Linked DNA regions of Homo sapiens: region 1 is linked to region 2. Evidence: promoter capture Hi-C in human tissues and cell types (Jung and others, 2019). All regions are on one chromosome and are shown on one strand. Each heading gives the region's core, a stretch centred on a gene start or on the middle of the fragment in contact. The rest is flanking DNA. Distances are from core to core; before and after follow the strand shown. Region 1 overlaps SEPTIN8 (septin 8). Region 2 holds the start of HSPA4 (heat shock protein family A (Hsp70) member 4).

The links. The method cuts DNA at HindIII sites, captures the fragments that hold promoters and counts their contacts. A contact is called where the count stands out against the background at its distance.
Region 1: a contact is called between a fragment that was not itself captured here and the fragment with the promoter of HSPA4 in region 2, in 1 of the 25 tissues and cell types used here (ovary).

What each region holds. Positions count from the first base shown.
Region 1 is chr5:132,755,306-132,762,499 of GRCh38, forward strand. It overlaps SEPTIN8 (septin 8), which reads right to left. Exons shown (of 10, transcript NM_001098811.2): 5 at 7,179-7,194; 6 at 6,495-6,591; 7 at 6,153-6,321; 8 at 5,828-5,960; 9 at 5,497-5,687. It also overlaps a transcript of CCNI2 not described here. Among named protein-coding and RNA genes, the nearest start is that of CCNI2, 11 kb to the left of the region's middle. The HindIII fragment of the contact is 7,294 bases long and covers 802-7,194 here.
Region 2 is chr5:133,048,754-133,056,407 of GRCh38, forward strand. HSPA4 (heat shock protein family A (Hsp70) member 4) reads left to right here and starts at 3,260. Exons shown (of 19, transcript NM_002154.4): 1 at 3,260-3,604. The coding sequence starts at 3,498. RefSeq lists enhancers at 2,547-3,509, 2,696-2,745, 2,816-2,865, 3,056-3,235, 4,474-5,436. The HindIII fragment of the contact is 13,363 bases long and covers 1-7,654 here.

The sequences.
Region 1 (7,194 bases), core at 3,199-5,698, 290 kb before region 2:
ACTTTTGCCTGTCCCCTAGGGCTTTCTACCTCTAAAAAACAGTCTCAGGTCCACCAGCCCACACCATCAGGCTGTGTACTTTAACACTAGCCACACTTTCACTACTCTTCCATCATTCCATTGAGATGCCAAGGAGCAGGTGTAGCTCAGGATTTAAGGGTACAGACTACCAGCGTTCAAATCTCAACTTCTCCAGTTACTTGCCATGTAACCTTGGGTAATTACTTAAACCTCTGTGCTTCAGCTATAAAATGGGGATGAATGGTCCCTAATCATAGGATTAGGATGAGGATTAGAGGAGTTAATGCATGTAATATGGTTCCGAGCAGTCCTGGCACTCGAATATTAGTAGTCCCGTGGCAAGCCTTTGTGTTAAGGAGGAACACTCCTCAAGGGCAGGTGCCCCTTTTCTCATGTCCTGCACCCAGTTAACCAATAAAGATTCATGGACCACAGGCTGCCCCTTTACCTTCCTGTAACTTTCCTGTGACTCTTCCCTCCATCCCCCACCTATGCAAGAGCCTTTCACAGATGTCTGTAGCAGGGTTTCCTATTAAAACAATTCCTACAGAAGTAGATCAACCTCCACAAAATTCAAAGAACAGACAAGCTGTATTTTACCACAGTTGTAGCAGATTAATGGGCTCAGGAAACGTTAAATCAGAAAAGCTACTGCCCAAAAAAGACACCACAAAAACTCAAAATAAATGCAAAATTTAATGAAAAAAATAAGTACAAAGTGAATGGAAAAGAACAAAAACAGTCAATGAATGCAGGAGTAAATGAATTAACACGTGAAGCAATTTTAGAAAAGCATGTTAACGTAACAGACTAGCAAGCCACACTTCCTCAGGCCTCGTATCCATGAGCCCCACTTAACAGGGAGCCCACATTTACACATACACAAACATATGCAGTCAGTAATGCACAATTACAAACCACCTAGATCAGGGTACCCACAACTAGAAAGAACATATTTCCACATCGGCCTGGGACAGGTCTGGTTTATGCCTTTTGATCTGGTGTAATTAATAGCATCCCCTTTCTCTCTCAATAGTCCCAATTTGGGCAACGAATTATATGGTGATTCTTCTACCTCAAACAAACATGGTTTATGATAAAGACATGATAGTAAATGCCAACATGATCCTGTAAGACAGCCCTAATAAAGCCAACAAATGACAATGAGAAAAAGAGGGGTAAATGAGACTCTGCAGACAGGGTCACATTCTATGGGGGCTAACTTACTAAACAGTGGCAAGTTTTAAGCTCACTTTATGCACCAAGGTTTAATTTGGTCTCAGCTAAAGAAGACAAAATTCCAAACACAAACAGCAGGGGAGAGGTGCAGTGAGGCTTGCTGGAGGGACCTGTGGAGGCAGCTCAGACCAGAAAACACAAGTCTGTCAAGTGTCCTGAAGATCCTGGGAAGGCTTAGGCCCGCAGGCAGCCAGCCACGAGTATGGCCTTTCAGTATGCCTGGGGTGCGACCCGCAGGCCACAATGGACGAATGGCCAAGTCTGCATACTCCAGAGTCCTAGGTTGGCCCATGAACCAGGAATTCTCATTTCTTATGTATCCAATGAACCTGCTGGGTCACCAGGCCTCATCTTCATAAATATGTTAGCTGAGAGAGGCTATCTTAAAGGTCATGCTCTGACCCAACTGCATACACTTTCAGACATAAAATTACCCTAGAGATGAGCCATTGGCAGCCCACATTTGCCCTGGATATGCCAGTTTACCTTTTTAGATACCCTCACTGAAGCATCAGTTTTCAATTGCAACCAGATACGGACTTATTGTGACGCTAAGGAAGCTTAATCTTCAGGGCCCCTTCCAAGACCCTGTACCTAATTTTATATTAACATTGTTTTTCTTAAAGAAGTCTTTCTAAATAATTCAAGCTTTCAGCCCCATAAAATTTAGATCCACCCCTGGTCATAGCATAAAAAGTTGAATTGTCACTAGAACCTGCTCTGCTGCTGGAGCATGGAGCCCCTCACAGGTAAAGGCTGCCTCTTCCTGGCCGTGCCTCGGTGGACACACACAGCTCACCCCTCCACTTCTCCCTGAGCAGAACATCATCTCAGGAAGGCAGGAGGAAGCCAGGACTTGGTCCTGGAAATCAATAATGCAAGCCAGACAGAAAGGGGGAAATGGTCATGAGAAGGAAGACAGGGGCATGAAAAGCAAACTACCAATTCCACAATAAATTAGCACGTCTTCCTGAGGCTTCCAGCCAGGGAGTAGGCTAGACTGTGAGCTCCTTGAGGGGAGCGTTGTGCATTCCTCTGGGTAGCTCCAGTGCCCAGCACGGTGCTTCAACATTAAAACTACCCTTCCTTTCATTTAGTCATTTTACATCTCCCATTTTACCAGGCCGTATTCTCAACACTGACATTCTTGGTGGCTTGTAAACCAACAGGAGCATAGAAGAGTCAAAGCTGCTAGTACTTCCTTAAAATGTTCCCCTTTAGAGTGCAGCTGAAGGGGAAAGCTCCTTTGCCGCTCATTTTTCCCTAATTGTCTATATACATCAGACACCTTCATCTCTTCACCCTGTGACCCAGCCAGGAAAGAAGCAATGACTTTGAGGTAACAACCTTTTTCCCACTGAGTACTCTTTACATTTGGAATATGCAGGATTTGCTTGGGAGTCTTAATTGGAGTCAAACACTTAACACACACACATGGAGTTGGTCCCTGTCTACAGGTAGCACCTCTGGGGCACAGACAACAGCTTTGGGCTGCTGTTCCATTTACATTCACAGTAAAAACGCTGGACATGGTCTTGTTCATGTTCCAATTCCATCCATAAAGAAATGCCAAACACTGTCATTACAGGAAGTTTATTACCCACCTCTCCCTGTATATGATAGGCATACTTTATACATAAGAAAGGTTTAGCTGTATTTTTAGTTTTTAAAAATCAGGGAATCTGTGTTACTTATGAAAATAATGGGAGAGGATATTATTTGTCTTGACGCTGGTGCCAAAATAAATATTTAGAAGTGTTTTAAAGTTATTAAAATTAAGCTGTAGGTTAGAAAAATTAAAATGAGGGGAACTGGGTGAATTTTGCAGCATGTATACCAGACCACGCAGCTGCACCTAGGGCACCACGTGAGTTGCCATCTCCACGCTGAACAATTAGGCCTAGCATCCCGGCTGGGGCCTTCGCTAGAGCGGCACATAACAGCTCCGTCAGGGAATAGTGACACTGTAAATGGAAGACCAGCCACTGGCTCTGAAAAAAATAAACCTCGTCAGTTTTGGATTCCAGCATTCATGGCTTTTACGTGTTTGCATAGAGAGGGGTGGCCCGCCAGGCCCGGGGCAGCCTGGGGCCAGGGTCGGTGGGAGGAAAGCAAGGCTGTAAACACTGGAGTCTGTACCGGCTCCCAGTCCGTCCTCACACCATGTTATGGGAGAAGGGTCACAAGGTGTAACTCAAGCAACTTAACACATGAAAGTCTAAAGTCCACTCTTGACATGTAAGTCTGTGCGTGCGTTAACTGAAAAATAAAAATAAAACAAACAAAACAAAAACAGACACATTAAAAGATATGCAGACCAAATCAAACAGAAGCAAAAGACAGCAAGATGGACACCGTGAAAGGGCAGTCAGTTTGGCATTTGTGACGAGCAAAGCAGAGAATTCACCTCAGTTTGTGGTGTCCCAGGCTAAGGGTCAAGATCTGATTGGGAAGTAATTTTGCAAAAAATTTGGATTCAAATTTAAAGAGTATGCATAACCAATCAAAACCACTCAAATAAATGGTCATGAAAAACACCCCTGCCCCCATTCCAAAAATGCACTCCCGACTCACACTAGTCCCTTGACCAGGGCGGCAGGAAGGAGTACTCCCAGTCAACCCACCTACCCCATTCCTGGCCTCCACAGAGCCGTCATGGGAAGAGCGTTTTCTCTCCCAGGGACCAAACTGACTGAAGCTTTCTAGCAGGTCCAGAGAACAGGAAAGACCTGTTTTCCAGGCCCAGGCCTGGAGAACGTATCATGGAGCCCAGGCCACATGGGAAAAGCAGGGAGACCAGACACCAGTGACAAGCCCCCACCCCGAGGGCTGTGCTGGTGTCCTTTCAGCCTGCCTGCACCCACCTTCACTGGCCCTCAGACCCTGAACTGGCCACAGACCCCTGTCTGCAGTTGCTGAGTGGTTTCTCCACAGCTTATTTCCTAGGGAATCCTGGCTACCTTTTCTTTAACAAGATGGCAGGAAGCAGGGCAAAGTCACTTTGGGTGCCAGTACCTGGGTCACAGACTCCCGCTGGCCCTAATGGCTAGGCTCCATTGCCACCAAGGAAGGAAGGGCCTGGGCATACACATCCCCAAATATCCCAGGAGGAAATGGATCCCGAGAATGACGGCCAGGTTGGGTTCACCTGCTTAGTTCCTAGGTTGGCAAGAGAAGGATGGTACCCAAGATAGGCCGGGGCAGGGAGAAGCAGGGATGGATGGGATCCCCACAGTGTGACATAGCATGGCTGTGAATGAGGTGGGTGGGCGAGGGTGAGCCCCAGAAGCCAGGACATCTGGACTCCAGCTAAGGGTGTGGAAACAGGCTATGAAGATCGCCAGGGAGAAGTGACTCATAGTTGTCCCCACCTGACTACTCCGTTGACTGCACTCCTGGTGCTGGGAAAGGCCTCCCTGCCATCCAGTCTTTCTCTCCTCTCTCCACTCTGCAGGAACAACTCCAGCCTCTACTTGAGGGGCAGCTCTTCTCCCCAAAAGAACCCACAGAGCCCCTGTGGGAAGCCGCTTTCCTCCCTTAAGCCCTGCGGGCCCTTCAGAACAGCTGTGTGGTGACCAGTCTCCAGGAGGCCAGTGTTGGCTGGCGCGAGTGCCCGCAGTTCTCCATCACCACCTGCCAGCCAATACGGGCTCCACACCACTGCCCCACAGACTGAGGAGGGATGCGCCACAGGTGTCCAAGCAGAAACCACCACGGCTTTTGGAATCTGGCTGGAGATGCTGACATTCCCAGGTCCTGTCCCGCCCCTGGCCTGAAAGACCATTCCCAGCATTCCCAGAGCCCTGCAGCTTCGCCCTCTCCACGCTGCTCCTCACCCGTGCAGCCCCACCTTCACCACGCTGCAACAGGGCCACAGCTGCCAAGGGGGCTATGGGAGAGCGAATGGGTGAGCAAGAAAGTTGGAGGAAGAGGAAGAAGGGGGAAGAGAAGGAGAGAAAAAGGGAGAAGGGAGAGGGAGGGGGAGCACAAGATTGCCTGTGCAAGTGAGACTGCATGAGTATCAGAGCAATCCAGACGGCGAGACACTGGATCACTAGTGAAAGAAAAAGGCAACCAAGAAAGCTGGGGGGAGAGCCACTGAAGATGAGGGAAAACCAAACAGGAAAGGGGTAAGAGAGGGCGAGCAGGAGAGCGAGAAGGGAGGTGAGGGACAAGAACGAAAGCAAGAGCCCACAGGAGCAAGAGGAGCCAGCGCAGGCGCAGCCTGCCACCTACTTCTTCTTGTCCTTGTCCTTCCTCAGGGGCTGCTGCGAGGTGGCGTGCAAGGCCTGCGACTGCAGGGCCTCCACCGCAGCCTTCCGGCGATTGAAGGCGTTGGTCTCCTCCTCCAGTTCCCGGCGCTTTTCCTCCACCTTGCGCTTCTCCTCCTGGTGGACCCGCTTCAGGTGCTCAAACTTCTCATGGAGCTGGCATCAGAAAGGGGGCAGAAGATGCGGGGAGCAAGAGGAGGGCTTGAGCCTGGGCCAGGAAGGCACCCCCACCTCTACCCTCAGCCAGGCCTTCCCTCCCTCAGCTTCCCCATCCCAGCCCCCAGCCTGGCACATACCTCCCTTTCCTTCTCCTTCAGCTCCAGCTCTGTCTCCTTCACTTTGTTGACAAACATCTGCCTCATCTCTTCCTCCTTCCTCTGCAGCTCACTTAGGAACTCCTTCCTCTTGGCCTCGTATGTCTCTTGTAGGCTGTGGAGACCCAGAGAAAAGAGGCCAAGGATGGGATTATGACGGAATGGGATAGGGCAGGGCAGAGCCAGAGAAGTAGAATCATGTGGGCACGAGGGGTAAGAGGATGTGGGGTCCCTCAGGGAACAGATGCCAGGGTGGTGTGTCTGGCCACAGCTGTGAAGACAGGCTCACTCTGGCTCAGGCTGTCACCTGAAGGGCTGGCTGTCACCATCGCTGTCCTGAAAGCCCATCTCCTCCAACTTGCAGCGCCGGTAGAGCTCGTAGTGCCGGCTGTGGGTCTGCTCGCGGAGGTCTTCCATGTTCACCCGGATCAACATCTCCCGCAGCTTCACGAAGTCGCAGTGATTCTCATTCTCCACTGAAAGCAGAGGGCCGGTGGGGTATCAGGCAGGCATGCAGGCGGGCACACTCCAGAGTCAGGGTAGGCACGCAGGTGGGCATGAGGAGGAAACAGCACAGGGTACTACAGGCAGCAGGGCAGGCCAGGGAACTCAGTTCTACCCCCAGGATGCATTTCCTGTCCACACTCACCCTGCACCACTCCCCAGGGGTACTGCCGTGCTCGGACCAGCTTGTTCCCCACCTTCACCTCCTCGGTGCTGCCCACCACGGCAAAGGGCAGATGTGCCTGGAAAGGGGCCCGGGTATGCGTAAGCCCTGAGCTGACACAGACTAATGGCAGACTCTCCCTCCCTGCCCCTGGGTCCTAGGGAGGGGCAGCCAGACCTGAACAAAGGCTCCAGGGCCAGATGCTTACTTCCTGGCTCTCTTCTGGAGAAATGTCCCAGAACTCCAAACAGGGGAGTGGGCTGAACCCTCAACCCCCTCCCTGGTGCTCCTGATTCTCCAGGCTGTTCTTTCAGCACTCGGGCCTCCCAGGGGCCATTAGAGCTTCCTGAAAGGACCTGTGAGCCTGGCTCCCTTCCAGGTTCCCAAACCCTTAAGCCTGCTCAACTGCTTCCATTTCCAGGCTCCTCCATGAGTCCAGATCTTATGACACCCAAACCTGGGGTCCCCAGTGTAGGCCCACTATCAGATTCTTCCTGTCCCCTGCCCACAGATGTAGGACTGGCCAGCTCCAGATGCCCACCCTTCTGTCCTGGAGAAGCTAAGGCTGGAATCCTGGGGAACAAGAGTCTCCTGGGGCTGTGTCAGATCTGTGCCGGCTCCTCGCCCTCTGGCCCCAGGGCCCTGAGGCCCTCACCCAACGCTCACATTCATGACTGCGTTA
Region 2 (7,654 bases), core at 2,010-4,509:
GTGACCTTGAACAAGTACCTTAACCTTATCAGGTCTCTATAAAATAGGAAAAATATCACCTACCTGATGGGCTTGCTATGACGAGTAAAGGAATTATATTGGTATCAATACAGTGTCTGGCGTAATGCTAGCATATGCTGTAGGAATGCCAGAGACATGGTAATTACCATTATTATTGAGTTATTGGAGTTTTGGTGTTTAAGAAAGGGTTGTTGCTTTGACTAAAAGCATTGCTCCACTCACTGTAAGATCAGGGAAGTCAGAAAATCACCATTATCTGAGCAGGTAGTTTCCTTGTGAAGCAAAAAATTGCAGAAGCTGCTCCAGAGCGTAGGGCAGGATTCCACTGGACACTTGTCAGGGAGAAATATGAGTCCCCAGCTGATGGAGAACCTTTTGTCTTTTGTTGGGCAGCCTATGAACACTGTATATTTAAAAACAAACACTTCTGTGATTGCTTAGGACTAAATTTAATCGTTGTATTTGAGAGTGGCATTTAACAACTTCCTGCTTTTAAAATACTTAAATACCTAAGATACTCTGCCAAATGGAAAGAATTTGTTCTCCGAACACAGTGCCTCCAACATTAAATATTCTGGACACTTCGTTGGTTCGCAACTGTGATACTTGGAAACTTGCCACGTTAGATTCTTCAGGATTCTAAAATAACCTTTTCCTGACTTCATTTATTTAAATATCCCAGAATAATCTCTTAAGCTATAAGTTTGATGATCCAGGAAACTATTTATAGGAGGATGAGTACTCTCTGTGACTGATGGTAGTTATGTTTTATTTTGAGAAGGACAAATCATTAAAAAGATTGATAGGGCTGGTGGTATTTTAAACTGAAAGCAGTACCAAGGCAAACAAGGCAGTTGAGGTATGAAGTTGGAACATAATAAGATATGGGTGTAATTTTCATCAACTTAGCTAAGACCTAGGGAGGTCTTCCAATAGAAGGAAGGCAGAAACAGGCAGTAACACAGACAGTGATCTTTTAGGTCCACTGGACACTTTAGCTTAGGCAGCTCGGGTTGTTTGCTCAGTGATTAACAACTGAGATAAACAGATGGAGACAGGACTCTGTCATAATTAAGGTCAACAGTGTGCTTGGTATTATTGATATTGCCCCTAGGTAGGAGAAAAACAGAGGAAGGAAGGTCAAGGTCAACCTAACTTAAAAAAACTTTAAAAAATTGTGGTGAAATATACATAAAATTTACCATTTTCATCATTTTTAAATGTACAAATCTGTCACTGATCATGCACATTGTTATGCAACTACCACCAGCATCTATCTCCAGAACTTTCTCATCTTCCCAAACTGAAACTCTGTATCCCTTAACTCTCCATTTCACTCTACTTGTGAAACCGCTTTTCTGTCTTTATGTAGTTTATTGTAGGTGCCTGATACAAGTGGAATCATATTAAATTTTGAATATAAAATTAAAAATTAAAAAAAATTAATTTTGATTTGTTTGGCTTTCCACTTAGCGTATTTTCAAGGTTCATTCATGCTGTAGCATTTATCAGACTTTCATTCCTTTGTCTTTTCAAAGCTGTATAATGTACTGTTACGCGTATACACTAAATTTAGAAAACTCATTCATCTGTCAATGGACATGTGGATTGTTTCCTCCTTTTAGCTACCGTGAATAAACTACTATGAACATGGGTATACAATGTACAAATATGTCCCTGCTCTCGTTTTTCCAAAGGCTGTTCCTGGCTGCCTCTACTCTTTTTATTCCCAGTACCCTTTTACAGGTAGCACCTGGTACTTGTCTTTGAAGAATTAACAGGTTTTAGTTAGGCAAAATGTGAGAACAGTGTGGCCATTTGCAAGTTTTAATGGTAATCAACCCGGGTTTGGGGTTGCTCCTATAGAGTGAAGTACCTCCGGAGGTGGCAGGAAATGCAGGTATTTAAAGGGAAGGGCATACCAGGGCAATGTAATTTCTTCTTTGCTCATTCACTTTTAAAATGGCTGAAGGGCAGGTACTCTAGCCTTGAGACCTTCAACTCATGATGTACCCTCCAGCAACGGAGAATTTCTTTTTAGTCCTTAAACTATGGTCTCTATTGCTAGTTTTCCAAACTTGAACACAGCCTTTTCCTTTTCTGGGAAGTTGTCCTAGTCTCCACCATTCTGTGCATATAGCACTCGCCATTCTGTACTGGGGTCACCTTTACTTGTTTAGCCACCCTCATGATGGGGATGATCCAGGTTTTGCAGAGGTGAAACTTATATACCATTGGGGGGCCCTACAAATACACAAAACAAATAATTAAAACGACAAATCACAACACATTACTAGAGACTTGGAGATTCAGATTCTCCTTAGATCTCTCTGGGTAATTTATTAGAAATGCTTACATAGATTTGCTTCCTAATCTCAAGCTGGCTTCCCCTCTCCACAACTCAGCAACTATCTATTCTCCCAGGAGGCCATACAAGCGAGGGGCCCTGAAGCTTAACATTTATTAACTTCATGTAAAGGTCTGAGCGGACCTTTCAGGCCAGGCAGCGTGTCACTTGCCTGTGTTCCTTGTTAGGGCCTACCACCGGGTAGGTGCTTGGAATGTGCTGTGGATTAAAGGCTTAAATCCTGCGGGCCCCTCAATCTGATCTAAGGACATGAGTGGCTTAGAGAACGGCGCAACAAGGCTAAGCGAAAGAAAACAAAGCGGTGTGGCTGGGAGTGGGCTCCTTCCCTCCGCTGGTGAGGGTGCGATCTTAGACTCTTGAGAGAACCCGACATAAAGGCCGCGTTCCAATGGCGGCCTTCTCCCCTACCGGCCAACCTGCCCCGAAAAGAGCAGAAGGCACCCTGCGGGATCTGCAGATCAGCTTGCGTCTCATTCTGGGGCACCGACACGGTGGAATGCAAGACACCCCACTACCGGAAGTTTCTTTGATGTTAAGAAAAACGGCGGAAGTAGGCCGCAGCGCTTCCTCAGTATAGTGCCTCGAGCTGGCTCGCCTACTTTCTACGGTAAAGGGAGGTGCTCCACATCTCTATGCAGCTGTGCAGCGCCGCAGGTTCCATGCGCAGGCTCGGTTGGCTAAATGCGCTTTCCAGCCATCTTTCAGCCACCCAGTCCTTTCCCAGGTTCTCGAGCCAGGACGTGACGTATTCAGACGTACTGGGGGCGGGGCCTCAAGGGGAAAAGCGCCTGAGCCGGGATATCGCGAGAACATCCCGTTCTTTCGTAGCTCTGGTGCTGCGGCTCCGCTCTCGTCGCAACGAGATCTTTCGAGATCTTCTCCGCCCCCGCTACCGGCGCCTCCTCTGCGGCCACTGAGCCGGAGCCGGCCTGAGCAGCGCTCTCGGTTGCAGTACCCACTGGAAGGACTTAGGCGCTCGCGTGGACACCGCAAGCCCCTCAGTAGCCTCGGCCCAAGAGGCCTGCTTTCCACTCGCTAGCCCCGCCGGGGGTCCGTGTCCTGTCTCGGTGGCCGGACCCGGGCCCGAGCCCGAGCAGTAGCCGGCGCCATGTCGGTGGTGGGCATAGACCTGGGCTTCCAGAGCTGCTACGTCGCTGTGGCCCGCGCCGGCGGCATCGAGACTATCGCTAATGAGTATAGCGACCGCTGCACGCCGTAAGTGTGGGCCGGGCCTGCCGCGTGCACTGGGGTTAGGAGATAATGCTTGTTCCAGTCTGGGACCCTCGCTGCTTGGGGAACGCGGGCCGAGGAGTCGCCTCCGTTCCGAGCCGAGGTCCCGGTAGGTCAGGGACCCCCAGTAGGTATTAGGACACTAGGGGCCGCGGCCCACTATGAGCGTGGGTGTGTGCTAAGCGCGAGGGCCTTTTCCCCGGTGGCCCGTCGGCCGAAGAAAGGCTTCTGGCCGGTACTCGGACCAGCGGAGGGCACGGGTAGGAACTGGAAGGACTGCAGGCCTAGGATGTAAACGGATCGCGGTCCTTTTCTTGAGGGCAGAGACCAGGCCCAGGTCGTACTGAGTCTTTTGAGTCCAACAGAAAGCTCAGAACTTTGCACACAGCAGGCGCTTAATAATAGTTGAATCGAACGGGTTCTGGGGCTTGCCAGCCGCGAGACCGTGGAGCGGTCAGCGTCCCACGTGAGTGGGGGCGGGGCAGCGCCCGGAAGAGAGCGAGCTGGAGCAGCCTCAGGCACGGGTTCCGGATGGACTCGGGGTCTTGAGATTGGGTTGGCACGGATAGGAATTTAATAAAATCGGTGCTCTTATGATAACTTTGCAATCGCTTTTGTTTTCCACATTATTTCGGGATATTGTGCTATATTGGGTCACTCTCTGTTTTGTGCGCGTTAACCCCTCAATAGGGTTGCACTTTAACGATAATGCATTCTAACCAGTGTGTTGGCCACAATTGTTAGTGGCTCAAGGGCCCGCCTTGACTTCTAGAACCCATAGTAAGTTTTGGGACCAGCATAGACACAGTTCTAAAAAATGGTGGGTCACTCAGGTCTTTCACTGGTTACAGTGTCTGCCTTTTGAATACTTGTAGATACATTTTAATCCGTTGTCGTGTTCTTAGACAAAATCTTGTAAGAAGTTCTGTATTATTTGCCATTCAGGGTCTCTCTTCTTTTTTTTTTTTTTTTTTTCTTTTTTGAGACAGACAGGGTCTCACTCTGGCTGCCCAGGCTGGAGTGCAGTGGTGCGATCTTGGTTCACTGCAGCCTCGACCTCCCTGGCTCCTGGCTCAGGTGATTCTCCCACCTCAGCCTCCTGAGTAGCTGGCGTTGCAGGCGTGCGCCACCATGCTTGGCTAATTTTATTTATTTTTAGTAGAAATCGGGTTTCACTATGTCACTCAGGATGGTCTCGAACTTCTGGACTCAAGCAGTCCTCCAGCCTCGGCCTTCTGGAGTACTGGGCTTACAGGCATGAACCACCGTGCCCTGCCCAGGGGCTCACTTGTTATTGATTGATTGAGATGGAGTCTCGCTCTGTCGCCCCAGGCTGGAGTGCAGTGGCATGCTCTCGGCTCATTGCAACCTCGGCCTCTGGGGTTCATGCGATTCTCCTGCCTCAGTCTCCTGAGGAGCTGGGATTACAGGCGCGTGCTACCATGCCCGGCTAAATTTTGTATTTTTAGTAGAGACGGGGTGTTGTCGAGTTGCCCAGGCTGGTCTCGAACTCCTGACCTCAAGTGATCCTCCCGCCTCGGCCTCCCAAAGTGCTAGGATTACAGGCGTGAGTCACGGTGCCCGGCCCCAGGGGCTCAATTCTAAGGTCCATTATTTTCACCCTCAATTTTTGTCACATTTCTTCAGCAGGTTTCAGCGAAACTAGATTGTTCAGAAGTCTCACATTTCCTTTCCACTTGTCAAATTTCCGCACCCCCCACCTCCTAACCCAGGTGCTTCCCCTGAAAACTCATCCCAGAAGCCAAAACGGTAGTTTGCTGTCCCTTTGCTGAGTTTAGTCTTGTTAACAGCCCTATTAAGGTTTATTTATTTATTTATTTATTTTGAGAAAAGGAGTCTTACTCTGTTCCCTACGCTGGAGTGCAGTGGCGTAATCTCGGCTCACTGCAGCCTCCGCCTCCTGGGTTCAAGCGATTCTCCTGCGTCAGCCTCCCGAGTAGCTGGGATTACAGGTGTGCGCCACCACGCCTGGCTAATTTTTGTCTTTTTTAGTAGAGACAGGGTTTCACCATGTTGGCCAGGGTGGGCTCGAACTCTTGACCTCAAGTGATCTGCCTGCCTCGGCTTTCCAAAGTGCTGGGTTTACAGGAGTGAGCCACCGCACCTGGCACAGCTTTATTAAGGTTTAATTCATATACTATACAATTTAACCAGATGAAGTGATCGTTTTTAGTGTAGTCACAAAACAGTGCAACCATTACTGTAATCAATTTTAGAACATTTTTATCACTCCCCCAAAGCCCTGTGCCCTTTAGCAGTTTATTTTCCCTATTTGTACTTTTTAACAATGGGTAGTCTAACTTGGCATCTCCAGGGAAGTGTATTGTGCCCTGAAGTTTTTTTTTAAGCATTAAAGTTTGTTTTTAAGCATTTTAGTATTTGAGAATATCTTTGTATCCGTGTTTTCTTGGTCTATAAAATGTCTCCCCTAAGGAACTGAAAAGGCTAAAGCGCTGAGTTAATGTATTTAGTGTTTTGGTCCTTTCCTGCCCTGTGATTGAACACGCTTTAGTTCCAAAGGGCGCACAGGAAGAGAATCCCAAGTATGGGGAAGAACAGTGTTCCTATCCTTTCTTTTAGATTATTATCACATGCTCCTGTTTTTCTTTTAGAAAGACAATAGCTACAACAATTATACCATGAATTCTATTTGAAACTGAGTTGTTGCAGATAAAAAATTTGCCTCAAAGACATTGTGATATATATGACCCCATACACCACGGAATTGTGATAAGAAAATTCCATTTAAATAATTTTCCTTACATGTTTTCTTTATATTTTCCTTCATAGTTTTCATTAACTTACAGGCATGCCATACATTTCAAGTGATTTCTGAACTGTATGATTTTGATTCACTTTGATTACTCTGTTTTGGAGTCTTGGGCTAAATAGAAAATGGTAGCAGGAAGGTTGATTTTTTTTTTTTTTTTTTTTTTTTTTTTTTTGGTAGCGGTTATGGAGGAATGGATTTGGAGCTCATATGTAAAAAAGACTGCATGTTGTGGGTTTGTTTTAACATGAGAGTGGAAATGAGATGCAAGTCTTAGAGGGTTTATGATGGTGGAAGTACCTCGTTTCAGATATGGGTGTAACAATCTGGATTAGGTTTTTGAGGAGCCAGTGGAGTCTCATCCAGAAGAGACCCTTGATTTTCCACCCAATTTAGGCTTCCTTCATTTTATCAGATGTTGAGTGCCTCTGATGTGGTAGCCATTTTTCTAAGCACTGGAGGTACTGTGGTGAACAAATAAGGTCATGCCATTATGGACATGGCTGGTGGATTAAACCAAATACTAAACAAAAATATGTAGTAATTACTAACTGTGGTAAAGGGCAAGGTGGAAAAGTACAGAATACAGTGAGAGTATAGAATAAGCGGGTCTAATTTAAATTGGATGGAAGGACCTGGCACGATAGCTCATGCCTGTAATCCCAGCACTCTGGGAGGCTGAGGTAGGAGGATCGCTTGAGGTCAGGAGTTCGCAACCAGCCTGGCCAACATGCTGGAACCCTGTCTCTACTAAAAATACAAAAATTAGCTGGGTGTGGTGGCGGGCGCCTGTGGTCCCAGCTACTCTGGAGGCTGAGGCAGAAGAATCGCTTGAACCTGGTAGGTGGAGGTTGCAGTGAACCGAGATCATGCACTGCACTCCAACCTAGGTGACAGAGCGAGACTCTGTCTCAAAAATAAGTTGGGTAGAAGGTGCTTTGAAAGAAGTACCATCTGAGACCTGAGGATGAGTAGGATTTTACCTTGGAGGTCACAGTAGGTTTGAGGAAGAGTTGTTCCAGGCAGAAGGAACAGCAAGTGGGAAAGACCTGAGCAAGAAGAGCTGCATCCTTGATACATTGAAGAGCAGCCACGACTCTTTCAGCTGCTTGAGAGAATGCTGTGAGATGAATCTGAGGAATTAGGCAGAGCCTTGTAAATAATAATAATGATTTTTACCTAGGTGCAGTGGGAAGATTATTTTTTGACACGGAGTCTGGCTCTGTCACCCAGGCTGGAGTGCA